3 separate regions of the Homo sapiens genome follow, and regions 1 and 2 are each linked to region 3. Evidence: promoter capture Hi-C in human tissues and cell types (Jung and others, 2019). All regions are on one chromosome and are shown on one strand. The core of a region is centred on a gene start or on the middle of the fragment in contact, and the rest is flanking DNA. Distances in the headings are between cores, read along the strand shown. Region 1 overlaps LOC105373790 (a long non-coding RNA gene). Region 2 has its middle 51 kb from the start of DIRC1. Region 3 holds the start of COL3A1 (collagen type III alpha 1 chain).

What was found. The method cuts DNA at HindIII sites, captures the fragments that hold promoters and counts their contacts. A contact is called where the count stands out against the background at its distance.
Region 1: a fragment that was not itself captured here is called in contact with the fragment with the promoter of COL3A1 in region 3 in 4 of the 25 tissues and cell types used here (H1 embryonic stem cells, IMR-90 fibroblasts, bladder and 1 more).
Region 2: a fragment that was not itself captured here is called in contact with the fragment with the promoter of COL3A1 in region 3 in 4 of the 25 tissues and cell types used here (IMR-90 fibroblasts, bladder, mesenchymal stem cells and 1 more).

Annotation. Positions count from the first base shown.
Region 1 is chr2:188,724,223-188,728,491 of GRCh38, forward strand. All of the region lies in intron 2 of LOC105373790 (a long non-coding RNA gene), which reads left to right. Among named protein-coding and RNA genes, the nearest start is that of DIRC1, 64 kb to the right of the region's middle. The HindIII fragment of the contact is 3,898 bases long and covers 1-3,444 here.
Region 2 is chr2:188,839,001-188,842,886 of GRCh38, forward strand. No RefSeq gene overlaps it. Among named protein-coding and RNA genes, the nearest start is that of DIRC1, 51 kb to the left of the region's middle. The HindIII fragment of the contact is 4,294 bases long and covers 1-3,720 here.
Region 3 is chr2:188,972,357-188,976,488 of GRCh38, forward strand. It overlaps COL3A1 (collagen type III alpha 1 chain), which reads left to right and starts at 2,017. Exons shown (of 51, transcript NM_000090.4): 1 at 2,017-2,212. The coding sequence starts at 2,134. All of the region lies in intron 1 of LOC105373791 (a long non-coding RNA gene), which reads right to left. The HindIII fragment of the contact is 6,513 bases long and covers 1-4,037 here.

The sequences.
Region 1 (4,269 bases), core at 246-2,745, 250 kb before region 3:
TGCCCTCTGACAATGCCTGCTTATCTAATTATGCTGTTAAAAAACTGCACACCAGGTGTAGCAGCTCACACCTGTAATCCCAGCACTTTGGGAGGCCAAAGAATAAGAAGAGGCAGCAGCATCAGAAGAAGAAGAAAAAGAAGAAGGAGAAATAACATGTGTTGGCAATTCTGTGGAGAAATGGAACCTCTTCTACACTGTTGTTAGGACTGTAAATGTGCAGCCACTATGGAAAACAGTAAGGAGGTTCCTCAAAAAATTAAAAATGGAACTACTATATGATCCAGCAATCTTACTCTTGAATATATAGCCCAAAGAATTGAAATCATAAGCTTGCAGAGACATCATCACTCCCATGTTTATTGCAACACTATTCACAGCAGCCAAATTATGGACACAACCCAAATATCCATCAGCAGATGAATGGACAGAGAGAATATGGTATATACATACAGTGGAATATTACTCAACTCTAAAAAGAAAAAAATCCTTCCATTTGCAACAATGTGGATGAATTTAAAGGACATTATGGTAAGTGAAAAAGGCCAGGCCCATAAGGACAAATACTGCGTGATTCCACCTATATGAGGCACCTAGAATAGTCAAACTGAAGAACAATAGTTACTATGGGGTGGGGGAAGGAAAAATGGAAATTGAGGAGTTGTTCGATTCATATAAAGTTTCAGTTGTGCAAGATAAATTAGTTCCAGAGTTCTGCTGTACTGCATAATGCTTATAGGCAACAATGCTGTATGGTACACTTAAAAATATGTTGAGAGTAGATCTCATGTTAAGTGTTCTTATTACAAACAAACAGAAATCAATGGAACACAAAACCTTTTTGTGGTGATGAATATGTCTATTATCTTGATCCTGGTGATGATTTCATGGGTGTATACATATGCCCAAACTCATCAAATTGTACACATTAAATAAGTGTAATTTTGTATATAAATTATACTTCAATAAAGCTACTAAAAATAAAGATAGTAAATCACTCCCACTTTGAGTTAGTCTCTCAAACCATTGAAATTGGAATCATTAGCATACATTTAAAGTTACAGTTTAGATAGACTCAAAACGAAGGTGTCATTGCAGTGATCTCTTTTAATATGTGCTAGATATATACCTCCATTTAACCAAAAAAAGCACTGGATTTCTCTATTTACTAGGTGCTTTTGACACATAAAATGATCCTTTTTGTGTCTTTTGCTTCTGCTAAATTGCTCATTATTTTCAAATACATTTGCCATATCACCTACTTTCTTTGTGCTTAACATACACGCAAATTAGAAACTTATATTCTGGGTTGCTGGCAGGTCTATCTATAGTCCTGAAGTCTTCCACTGGAGGAGAAAATTGGAAGAAATAAGGTAAAATTGCACAACCTGGATACCAAAAAAGTGTAATCTGTATTCAACTTTTCTTTGCATTAACTTCTCAACAACCATGAACAATGAACAGATCTTAACATACTAGTGTAAAAAGATGCGATTTTTAATGACATCCTTATTAGTGTTGTCTATGTAACATTTCTGAAAATGTTTCCATGTGTTTTGAAATTCCTTTAAAATAAATATTCTGGAATAATATGAAGAGAAATAAAGATACTTTTGGGAGTGGGAGGGATGCTTTGGAAATCATCACATTCCAAATTCCCACTATCTTTTAAAGTATGACCTACATCATCTGGGGATAAAATAATATAAAGAAGCGAAAGTCTGTGAGATCACTTAAGTCTTCCTTCAAGTATCTGGAGAAGGCATCATGATCTTGCCTTACACAGCATACTCACAGTGAATAAATAAATAAGGGTGCATACCCAATATCTTATATTTTAACATTTTTTTTTCTTGGTTTCAACCTATTTAAAATACATACATTAAAATGACAAATTAACCACTTAAAAAGTTTTTGTAACTTATCTTTCAGTAGGATGCCCAAAATGTATGACTCATGAGAAAGGAATCTATCGCATGAAAACATTCAGGGAGTAGACATACTTACTAGAGTTTTGCTTAAGTATCAAGTCAGTTGTAATCACTTCGTAATCTAAAAATTATTTAGGGAATGCTCAACAGGTGAAATTTTAGTTTTGAGAAGACTTTGTGACAATTTTCTTGTAATTATAATTTTAAAAAATACTATCTGAACATTTAATATCTGTTAATTATCAAAATATATTTTAAAGTATATTTTAAAAGATCTCACTGGACTATTAGAAATGAGTTAAAATATAGACAAATTTAAAAATAAAGCAAAGTGAGGCATTTAAATGATCATTTCCTATTTTTAATTTTCTGAGAAGTTAGGTAAACCTACTTTCTGTCTCACCCCCTCCCCACAATAAAATAAATTATGTCATATTAAATAGCGAGAAGAACTAAAACATCAAATGTCAATGCAAGAGAATACATTTCTGGGCTGACAGAAACAGAATCAAGAAGAATGGTGGCCACATAGCATGGAATCAATTTATATCTGGCAATAACACTAAAAGAATAGAATTTCTTTTGTGAGATATTTTTTACATTGGGTCCAGCAATTTATGCATCATTAGTAACATCTGTGACCACAAAAAGATCAGTTAAAGCAAGGAAGGACAAAGAGAGAGAGAGAGAGAGAGGTAAGAGAGAATAGAGAAAAAAGTTTTGATTAATTCAGTTTCTTAACTGCACCTCTAGTTTTTTTGTGTTGTTTTCTAGTAACACGAAGTCATAAAGGAATCTAGAGTAGGCTAGATATGTGCAAATGTTTCCACTACATATCCACATGAGTGTACTAAATACAATCATATTTACGCCCCCTTCAGTGAGGTAGAGAAAGATAGCACTTCTTTGGATGATTTGTTCGGTTACAGGACAAGCTTGAACATGATCACTTAGTGCCTCACTCCTGTTTGTCAGGCTTTATATAAGAGCTACTTATGCTAAGGAACTATATCATGTTCATCAGATATAAATTATGTTTGTATTGCAACATTTCTATTAAAATAGATAATATTTTCAATGTTTATGTTGTTTATATTAGGCAAATCATTGTAGTTCTTCATAAGCAATAAATGGAATGGATTATCCTGCAAGTTAAAGAGTTTTGTCTTTTCTCTTGGGCCAACTTAAATGTTAATTGGCTGTCCACACCATGAGCTTTGGTTTTGGTAGTGTCATGTTGTGGACAAAGAATTTCAGTCTGAGTCCCACCTGACTGACAAAAGCATTTTGGCTCATTCTGAATGCCTGGATGTTTTCTTTCAAAATATTATTTCAACTGTAACCTTTCAAGGTACCAGCACTAATGCTTAAAGGAAGCATAACATTCTCCAAGGATTTCACAGAAAGAGTAACACAAAGTGTGTTCAATTAAATTTATTTACCATGATTTTAATTCCTAGTATGTGCCTACTATGTACATGAAAGTGTTTAATGCAGATTTTTTTTAAAAGTAAAATTATAATTTAAAAAAGCCCAAATACAAGATAAATTTCAAACTTTGGTAAAATAAATGTCTTCACATTTCACAGCCTTCATGTCATCATATAAAATCTGCCCCTAAAATTGATATCTGAATATTGAGGTGGTTAGTCCTTTGCTCTGAGGTATGTGAAGCAGTTCAGAAACAGAGTAGCTAACATAGTTTATTGCAGGGTAAAGATTCAGTATCTTCAGCAGCCAAAAATATTTCTAAGATTACTTCAGGATAAACCCACTGTGTATGGATTATTCTACATCGTGGCCATTTGCTGGCAATAAGAACTCTTCTCAGTTGGTGACTTAGTAATATGAGGTACTGACAGTGGCAATCAGATAGAAATGATGAAATTAGAGTTAACACTGGCACCAGCCCTCTGAATGTCAGTAGAAGAAACTTATCCTTTCTTCTCACTGCAGAAACATGACAATATTCACAAAACACACAGAGACAGACATAACATCTGCTCAGAATTATTGACATAATTCTCAATTATGTGCAAGCTACCAGAGAAGTCAGAAGGAAGTTAAATGAAAAACTTTTAGTTGTAGAAGCTTCTTAGGCTCCAAAGTAAGAATCACTACTCTATTGAAAAGTTATTTTACTAAGGGTAGAAAATTATTAGCTCTATTAATGAGGAATCTATCAACAGCATTAAAGCAGTTTATTTTAAGATTATATAGCAATTCTGCAGTGAAAATAAAGGACTGTTCTAGAAGACGAAGGTATGAATTACCGTTCTTTCTGCTTACACACACACACAAACATATATGTGTGTGTAAATATACATGGAGAAACACA
Region 2 (3,886 bases), core at 324-2,823, 130 kb before region 3:
GAAATAACCATTATAAATATCTATGCACCCAGCAGAGAAGCACCTAAATACATAAAACAAATATTAATGGAAGGGAGAAATAGAAATAAAATATTAGTATTGGGTTTCAGTACCCCACTTTTAAAAATAAATAAATCAACAAGACAAAAAAAATAAGAAAATTCTAATTTTGAATTGCCCGTTTGACCAAATGGACCTAACAGAATGTCCTAGTCCATTTTTTTGCTCCTATAACTGAATACCTGAGACTGGGTAACTTAGAAAGAACAGAGATCTATTTCTTACAGTTCTAGAGGCTGGAAAGTACAAGGCTGATGGGCGTGCATCTGATGAGAGGCTTCTTGCTACATCATTCCATGGCAGAAGGCAGAAGGCAAGAGAACATGTGCATACATTAGAGAGGAAAGGGGCTGAACTCATTCTTTCATCAGGAGCCCAATCCCACAATAAGACTCTGACTCCTCTGATTACAACTTAACCCATTCATGAGGGGAAAGCCTTTGTGACTTAATCATCACTTAAAGGTCCCACCTCTCAACACTGTTACATTGGGAATTAGATTTCCAACACAAAATCTTAAAAACTTTGGCAGAACATATTTAATCCATAGCACAGACATACACATAACTTTTCACCCAACAGCAGCAGAATGCACATTTTTCTCTAGCACATGTGAAATATTCTCCAGTATAGACCATATGTTAGACCATGAATATTTAAGAAGATTAAAATAATGTCTAGTATCATTTCAGAACACAATAGTATAAAACTGGAAATCAATATCAGTAGGAATCTTAGAAAATTACAAATATTTGAAAATTAAACAACATGCTCCTAAACAACCAATGGCTCAAAGAGGAAATTGAGCCAAATGTCATGAGACAAATGGCAATGGAAACACAACATTCCAAAACCCATCATGTGCTTCAAAAACAGACCTAAAAAGAAAGTTTATAACAACAGGCTGAGCGCAGTGGCTCATGCCTATAATCCCAGCACTTTGGGAGGCTGAGGAGAGTGGATAATCTAAGATCAGAAGTTCAAGATCAGCCTGATCAACATGGGGAAATGCCATCTGTACTAAAAATACAAAAAATTAGCCGGGCATCATGGTGGGTGCCAGTAATCCCAGCTACTTAGGAGGCTAAGGCACAAGAATTGCTTGAACCTTGGAGGCAGAGTTTGAAGTGAGCTGAGATCTCGCCACTGCACTCCAGCTTGGGCAACAGAGTGAGACTCCATCTCAAAAAAAAAAAAAAAAAAAGAAAAGAAAGAAAGTTTATAACAACAAATGCCTACATTAAAAATGTAGAGGAAGGTGGTAGGCAAAATGGCCAAATAGGAACAGCTCTGGTCTGCAGCTCCCAGCGAGATTAAGGCAGAAGGGGGTAATTTCTGCATTTCCAACTGAGGTACCTGGCTCATCTCACTGGGAATGGTTAGACAGTTGGGTGTAGCCCACAGAGGGTGAGCTGAAGTAGGATGGGGTGTCACCTCACCTGGGAAGCGCAAGAGGTCGGGGAACTCCATCATCTAGCCAAGGGAAGCCTTGAGGGACTGTGCCATGTGAAATGGTGCATTCCAGCCCAGATACTATACTTTTCCCATGGTCTTTGCTACCCACAGGCCTGGAGATTGCCTCAGGTGCTTACACCACCAGGGCCCTGGATTTCAAGCACAAAAGTTGGCAGCCATTTGGGCAGACACCGAGCTAGCAGCAGGAGTTTTTTTTCATACCACAATGATGCCTGGAACATTAGTGAGACAGAACCGTTCACTCCCCTAGAAAGGGAGCTGAAGCCAGGGAGCCAAGTGGCCTAGCTCAGCAGATCCCACTCCCATGGAGCCCAGCAAGCTAAGATCCACTGGTTTGAAATTCTCACTGCCAGTACAGCAGTCTGAAGTCAACCTGGGACACTCAAGCTTGGTGGTGGGAGGGGCATTTACCATTACTGAGGCTTAAGTAAGCTGTTTTCCCCTCACAGTGTAAACAAACCCACCAGGAAGTTTGAATTGGGCGGAGCCCACTGCAGCTCAGCAAAGCTGCTATAGCCAGACTGCCTCTCTAAATTCCTCCTCTCTGGGCAGGGCATCTCTGAAAGAAAAGCAGCAGACCCAGTCAGGGGCTTATAGATAAAATTCCCATCTTCCTGAGACAGAGCACCTGGGGGAAGGGATGGGATGGCTGTGGGCACAGCTTCAGCAGACTTAAACGTTCCTGCCTGCCAGCTCTGAAGAGAGCAGCAGATCTCCCAAAGCAGTGCTCAAGCTCTGCAAAGGGACAGACTCCCTCCTCAAGTGGGTCCCTTAACCCTGGGCCACCTGACTGGGAGACATCTCCCAGCAGGGGTCGACAGACACCTCATACAGGAGAGCTCCGGCTGGCATCTTGTGGGTGCCCCACTGGGATGAAGCTTCCAGAGGAAGGAACAGGTAAAATTCTTTCCTGTTCTGCAGCCTCCACTGGTGATACCCAGGCAAACACCGTCTGGAGTGGACTCGCAGCAAACTCCAGCAGAACTGCAGCAGAGGGGCCTGACTGTTAGAAGGGAAACTAACAAACAGAAAGGAATCACATCAACATCAACAAAAAGGACGTCCACTCAAAAACCTCATCTGAAGGTCACCAACATCAAAGACCAAAGGTAGATAAATCCATCAAGATGAGGAAAAAACAGCATAAAAAGGCTGAAAATTCTAAAAATGGAAATGCCTCTTCTCCAAAGGATCACGACTCCTTGCCAGCAAGGGAACAAAACTGGATGGAGAATGAGCTTGACAAATTGACAGAAGTAGGATTATAAATTATTCTATTATAAAGACATGTGCACATGTATATTTATTGCAGCACTATTCAAAATAGCAAAGAGTTAGAACTAATCCAAATGCCCATCAATGATAGACTGGATAAAGAAAATGTGGCACATATACACCATGGAATACTGTGCAGCCATAAAAAAGGATGCATTCATGTCCTTTGCAGGGACATGGATGAAGCTGGAAACCATCATTCGCAGCACACTAACACAGGAATAGAAAACTAAACACCACATTATCACTTGTAAGTAGGAGTTGAACAGTGAGAACACATGGACACAAGGAAGGGAACATCACATACTGGGGCCTGTTGGGGGGTAGAGGTCTAGGGGAGGGATAGCATTAGGAGAAATGCCTAATGCAGATGATGGTTTAATGGGTGCAGCAAACCATTATGGCACATGTATACCTATGTAACACCTGCATGTTCTGCACATGTATCCCAGAACTTAAAGTATAATTTAAAAAAGAAAAAAAAACAGAAGTGAATATTGACAAATATCCATTTTTGTCATAGAAAAAAGTTATATAATAACTTCAACATGTGTTTCTCCACTAATAATTAGGGTGTGTCTTCACATTTACAAGAGTCATTTGTAGTTCCTTATCTGTGACCTATCTATTCATATTCTTTGCTCATTTTTCTAAATAGCTGTTGTTCTTTTTCTCATTGATTTGGAAAAGCTCTATATGTATTAAGAAAATTATCAGCCAGGCACAGTGGCTCACATCTGTAATTCCAGCACTTTGGAGGCCGAGTTGGGGGGATCACTTGAGGTCAGGAGTTTGAGACCAGCCTGGCCAACATGAAGAAACCCTGTCTCTACTAAAAATACAAAAATTAGCTGGTCGTGGTGGTACGTGTCTGTAATCCCAGCTACTCAGGAGGCTGGGTCAGAGGAATCACTTGAACCAGGAGGCAAAGACTGCAGTGAGCCGAGATTGTGCCACTATACTCTAGCCTGGGTGACAGAGCAAGACTCTGTCTCAAAAAAAAAAAAAAAAAGGAAAAAAGAAAATTATCCCTTTGCTTATGATTTGAGTTGAAACTATGTTTTCTCTATTTAGC
Region 3 (4,132 bases), core at 767-3,266:
GTAGATACAAAGACATCATGAGAAAAACTATGTTTCTGAATTGGTTTGAACACAGGAAATATTTTTTGTGTACAGGACAAAGATGTCTGAAAGACAGAAAGATGCATATAACAGCCTTTCCCCAGCATCTCTACTGTGATCCAGTAGAAAAGCTTATATTCATGACCATTCTCAACAGTTACTTTTCTCCCACGCCCCCAAGCAGTGACTCTCCAATCTAAAATAAAGATACACAAGAGGTTGGTCTCGTTCTAGTTTTCCTTTCCTGTCATCAAATGATGTCATCTACATTGAGATGTCTTGGTTTGTGTCCTTGTGACTGAAGATATAAGAAAGCTTGGGAGGCCGAGGCGGGCGGATCACGAGGTCAGGACATCAAGACCATCCTGACTAACACGGTGAAACCCCGTCTCTACTAAAAATACAAAAAATTAACCAGGCGTAGTGGCGGGCGCCTGTAGTCCCAGCTACTCGGGAGGCTGAGGCAGGAGAATGGCGTGAACCCGGGAGGCGGAGCTTGCCGTGAGCCGAGATTGCGCCACTGCAGTCTAGCCTGGGCGAGAGAGGGCGACCCCGTCGCAAAAAAAAAAAAAAAAAAGATGCAAGAAACAAGAAAGCAAGTTTGCCACTGTCCATGCTTACAGGATTCATGTACACCTGGGAATATACATATGACATGAGTTGAGTGAAAATTTAGTAACACAAATTAGAAGAAAGAGAAAGATGAAAATTAGTTTAAAGGAGGTAATTTACTTAAGGAGGAAAGTTTTGCATTGAGGCATAAGGAAGTGACTTCCATTAATTGGTGTGAAATGGGGAGAATTTTATGTGCACAGGCATAGAGACGGACATGTTTAGGTGAAGGTGAAGAAAATTAGTTCAAGTGACCTTGATTAGAATTGAAATGTCCACCGTAGATTATAGAGATAGATGAACTAACTATGAACTGATGATTAGGGTGTAAAGAGATATCTCCATTGCCAGATATAGCCTTATACTGTGGACAAGCATATTTTTCCTGCAGAGATTTATCAAAGACCTATAAATGGTATTTGCCCCTCTTTCAAATATGACACAAAAATTACTGCTTAGATAGATCCAGAAATACATTGGAAAGTTTTGTGGATGAGGATCTGGAAAGTATACACATAAAAGTCTAAATTAGAAATATTTATACTAATCTTTAGAGTAATGCAGAAAAAATGACCACTTTCTCTGGTACTCTTTTGCTATTCTATGTGATAAACTCTTTCTCTTCCAGTTTCCTAAAAAGTTATGTCATGAAAAGGCTGAATTTTTCTCTAGAAAAATCTGCTCTGTCTTTCCCAGGCAGCATAAAAATTGGAAATCTCACAAGAAAGCACTCTGGCTTGCTAAAGAAATTTGTGAGAAATGGAAACAGCTATAGATAAGTATCTAACTTTTAGGAAGCCATTCAAACATTGCTGAAATACTTTGTCTTTTGATATTTGCCTGAAACTTAACTTCTAGGACCCAGGGTGGGTGGATGAGTCGAAGGGGCATACGGTGGCATTTCTTTCCGTGAGTCTCTTACAGTCTCCTATTTAAATTGAGTTAGGATTACTTCTGGCAAAATCCCAACATAAAAATCTTCTAGGAAGATCAGTTCTGTAAATTAGACATACTAGATAAATGGGCATCAAGCAGTTTTTCAAAATTATGCAGTTGTTAACTTCATAAGGGGAAATAAAAATGTATGCATTTACATTGTATGTATTAAAACAAGGCAGAGCATTTCTATACGTTCCTAAGTTATACAAACATATATGTAAGAGTGAAATATGTAAAAAAACTTTTACATAAGCAGATGCATACAAACTCCAGATGTGCTCTTTTTCTTACTGTGGGTTGTGTCTTCTATAAGGGAAAAAGAAATATTTATCATTTCTTTTACTGCTGAGGGGATGGGTGCGGCTCTCATATTTCAGAAAGGGGCTGGAAAGTGAGGGAAGCCAAACTTTTTCCTATTTAAGGCCAAAGCAAAGGAATCTCAGTGGCTGAGTTTTATGACGGGCCCGGTGCTGAAGGGCAGGGAACAACTTGATGGTGCTACTTTGAACTGCTTTTCTTTTCTCCTTTTTGCACAAAGAGTCTCATGTCTGATATTTAGACATGATGAGCTTTGTGCAAAAGGGGAGCTGGCTACTTCTCGCTCTGCTTCATCCCACTATTATTTTGGCACAACAGGAAGGTGAGTAGGTACTGATTTCAAGAAACTTTATGGGATTTTTGTCTTTCTTCTCCTCACAAAGAGGGGTGTAAAGGGGAAAATCAGTTGCCTGATTCAAGATAATTTCCTCTATAAGCTCCAGATTGTGAAACGTTGAACTGACCATGGCTGTGCTTTTTACATTACTTGAAAAATAATCGCGTTATGTGTGTTTTTAAGAGTTCTGTGGTTAAGATAAGATGTTCTTGTACTAACTTGTTTTCATGTTAAAGGCACTGGAAACTTTTAAAAATGGCTTTAAAATTTTTCCCTCCTGGATTGTTAACATCTTGGAATACTTCCCCAGGCAGTCTGGAAGTTATTGGTCTCTTGCAATAATTTTATGTTCCTCTTTGTCTGCTGGATTCTTTGTAAGGTTAGAATATTGAGCATTGTTTTCTGAATAAGAATGCCTTTCAAATATCATGGATTAAGAACAGTCTAAAGGAAGATTCTACGCATTATCAGAATCATTGAATATATTTCTGTAAAATGGCTACAAGATACCTATAAACATTCTTCAAAGGGATCAAACTGCTAAAATATTTTATTATTCCTGTTTTTATTTTGTTTCAAGAATGATTGATTAATTCATCTTTTCTAGTAGCTTGATATTAAGGGACTAATATTTTCCACATATTCTACGTTTTAACCACATTCGCATTAATGAAGAAAATATTTTTTAAAATGTTTCAACAGGAGGTTTGACTTTGCTGCAAACAAGGTAAAGATACTAGTACTGTTTGACTTCAGAAAGCTGTTTTGCTATATTTTCTAATAATTGCATGTAATGTTTTTCATATTCTAATTTCCCCTAAAAACACATTTGTCTCATTATTTATGTGAAAATATTCTTTTATTTACCATAGTCATGAAAATGCTGAACAAATTGGAATACAAACTTCCATAGAAATAAATATTTAAGTGCTAAATGTAAAGATAGCTAGGAGAAATTATTAGACAATTTTTATTGCACATAACTAAACATGGTTACATTTAAACATATAGATTTTGCAAAGGACACTGCATGAAAATTTGGTTTTTGTTTGTAATATCAAATGTATTTGTTGTCCTCATAGCTAATACATGTAAATGTGTGTATGAGGGGAGGGGTAGATATACAATGAAATGTCTTCAGTTATATTCAGCCCATGGACACAAAAGAAAAGAAACACCCATTTTCCTTGTTCCCTTAATTTCCTCTCCTCCTTACCCCTCCTCTCCTTCGCTTTGCCCTCCTCCTTATCTCTCTCCACCCCTTTTGGCTCCTTTAGACTTCTCTTCACTCATCACCCCACCCCTTCCTAGGCAAGCCCATATCTACTCCTCTCTCCTCCTCTGTCTTCCCTGCCTGTTACTCCCTCCCTACTCCCCATGTGGCCTCCTTATGCCTCCATTTCTTTTTTTTAGTTCTCTCTCTCCTTGCCTCCTCACCCTTTCTTTCCCCTGAACTCTCAATCCTTCTTCCTTTCTCATTCCTCTCCCCTTTTCCTCCCTATCCTGCTCTTCCCAGGAGATGCTACAACTCACAGTCCTTTTTTAGGATACCAAATGACTACTATCCCCCACCAACCATTTATTGAAAAGACTACAAACTTAGGGGTTTTAGCTCAAAAAATTGCAACATATTTGTAGTTGCCTCGTGGTTGCAAGCTTTTTATAAGCACTGTGGCTATTTTTCTTCCCAATCCAACTTTAGTGGGGGGGTGTTTGCCACTTACAGTACCTTGACATCACATTAAGTTCTGTTTATTTCCCTCTTTCTCTTTAGATGCAAAAAATAATCAATAAGTATAAAATTTTGCTGATATGTGTTTGTGTGTTCTTAAGCTCAAAAAGAGTTGAAAGAGAACTGTTCAGCCTATTTTTTTTGTCATGAGTAAAAGTAAAGTTGAAGTGACT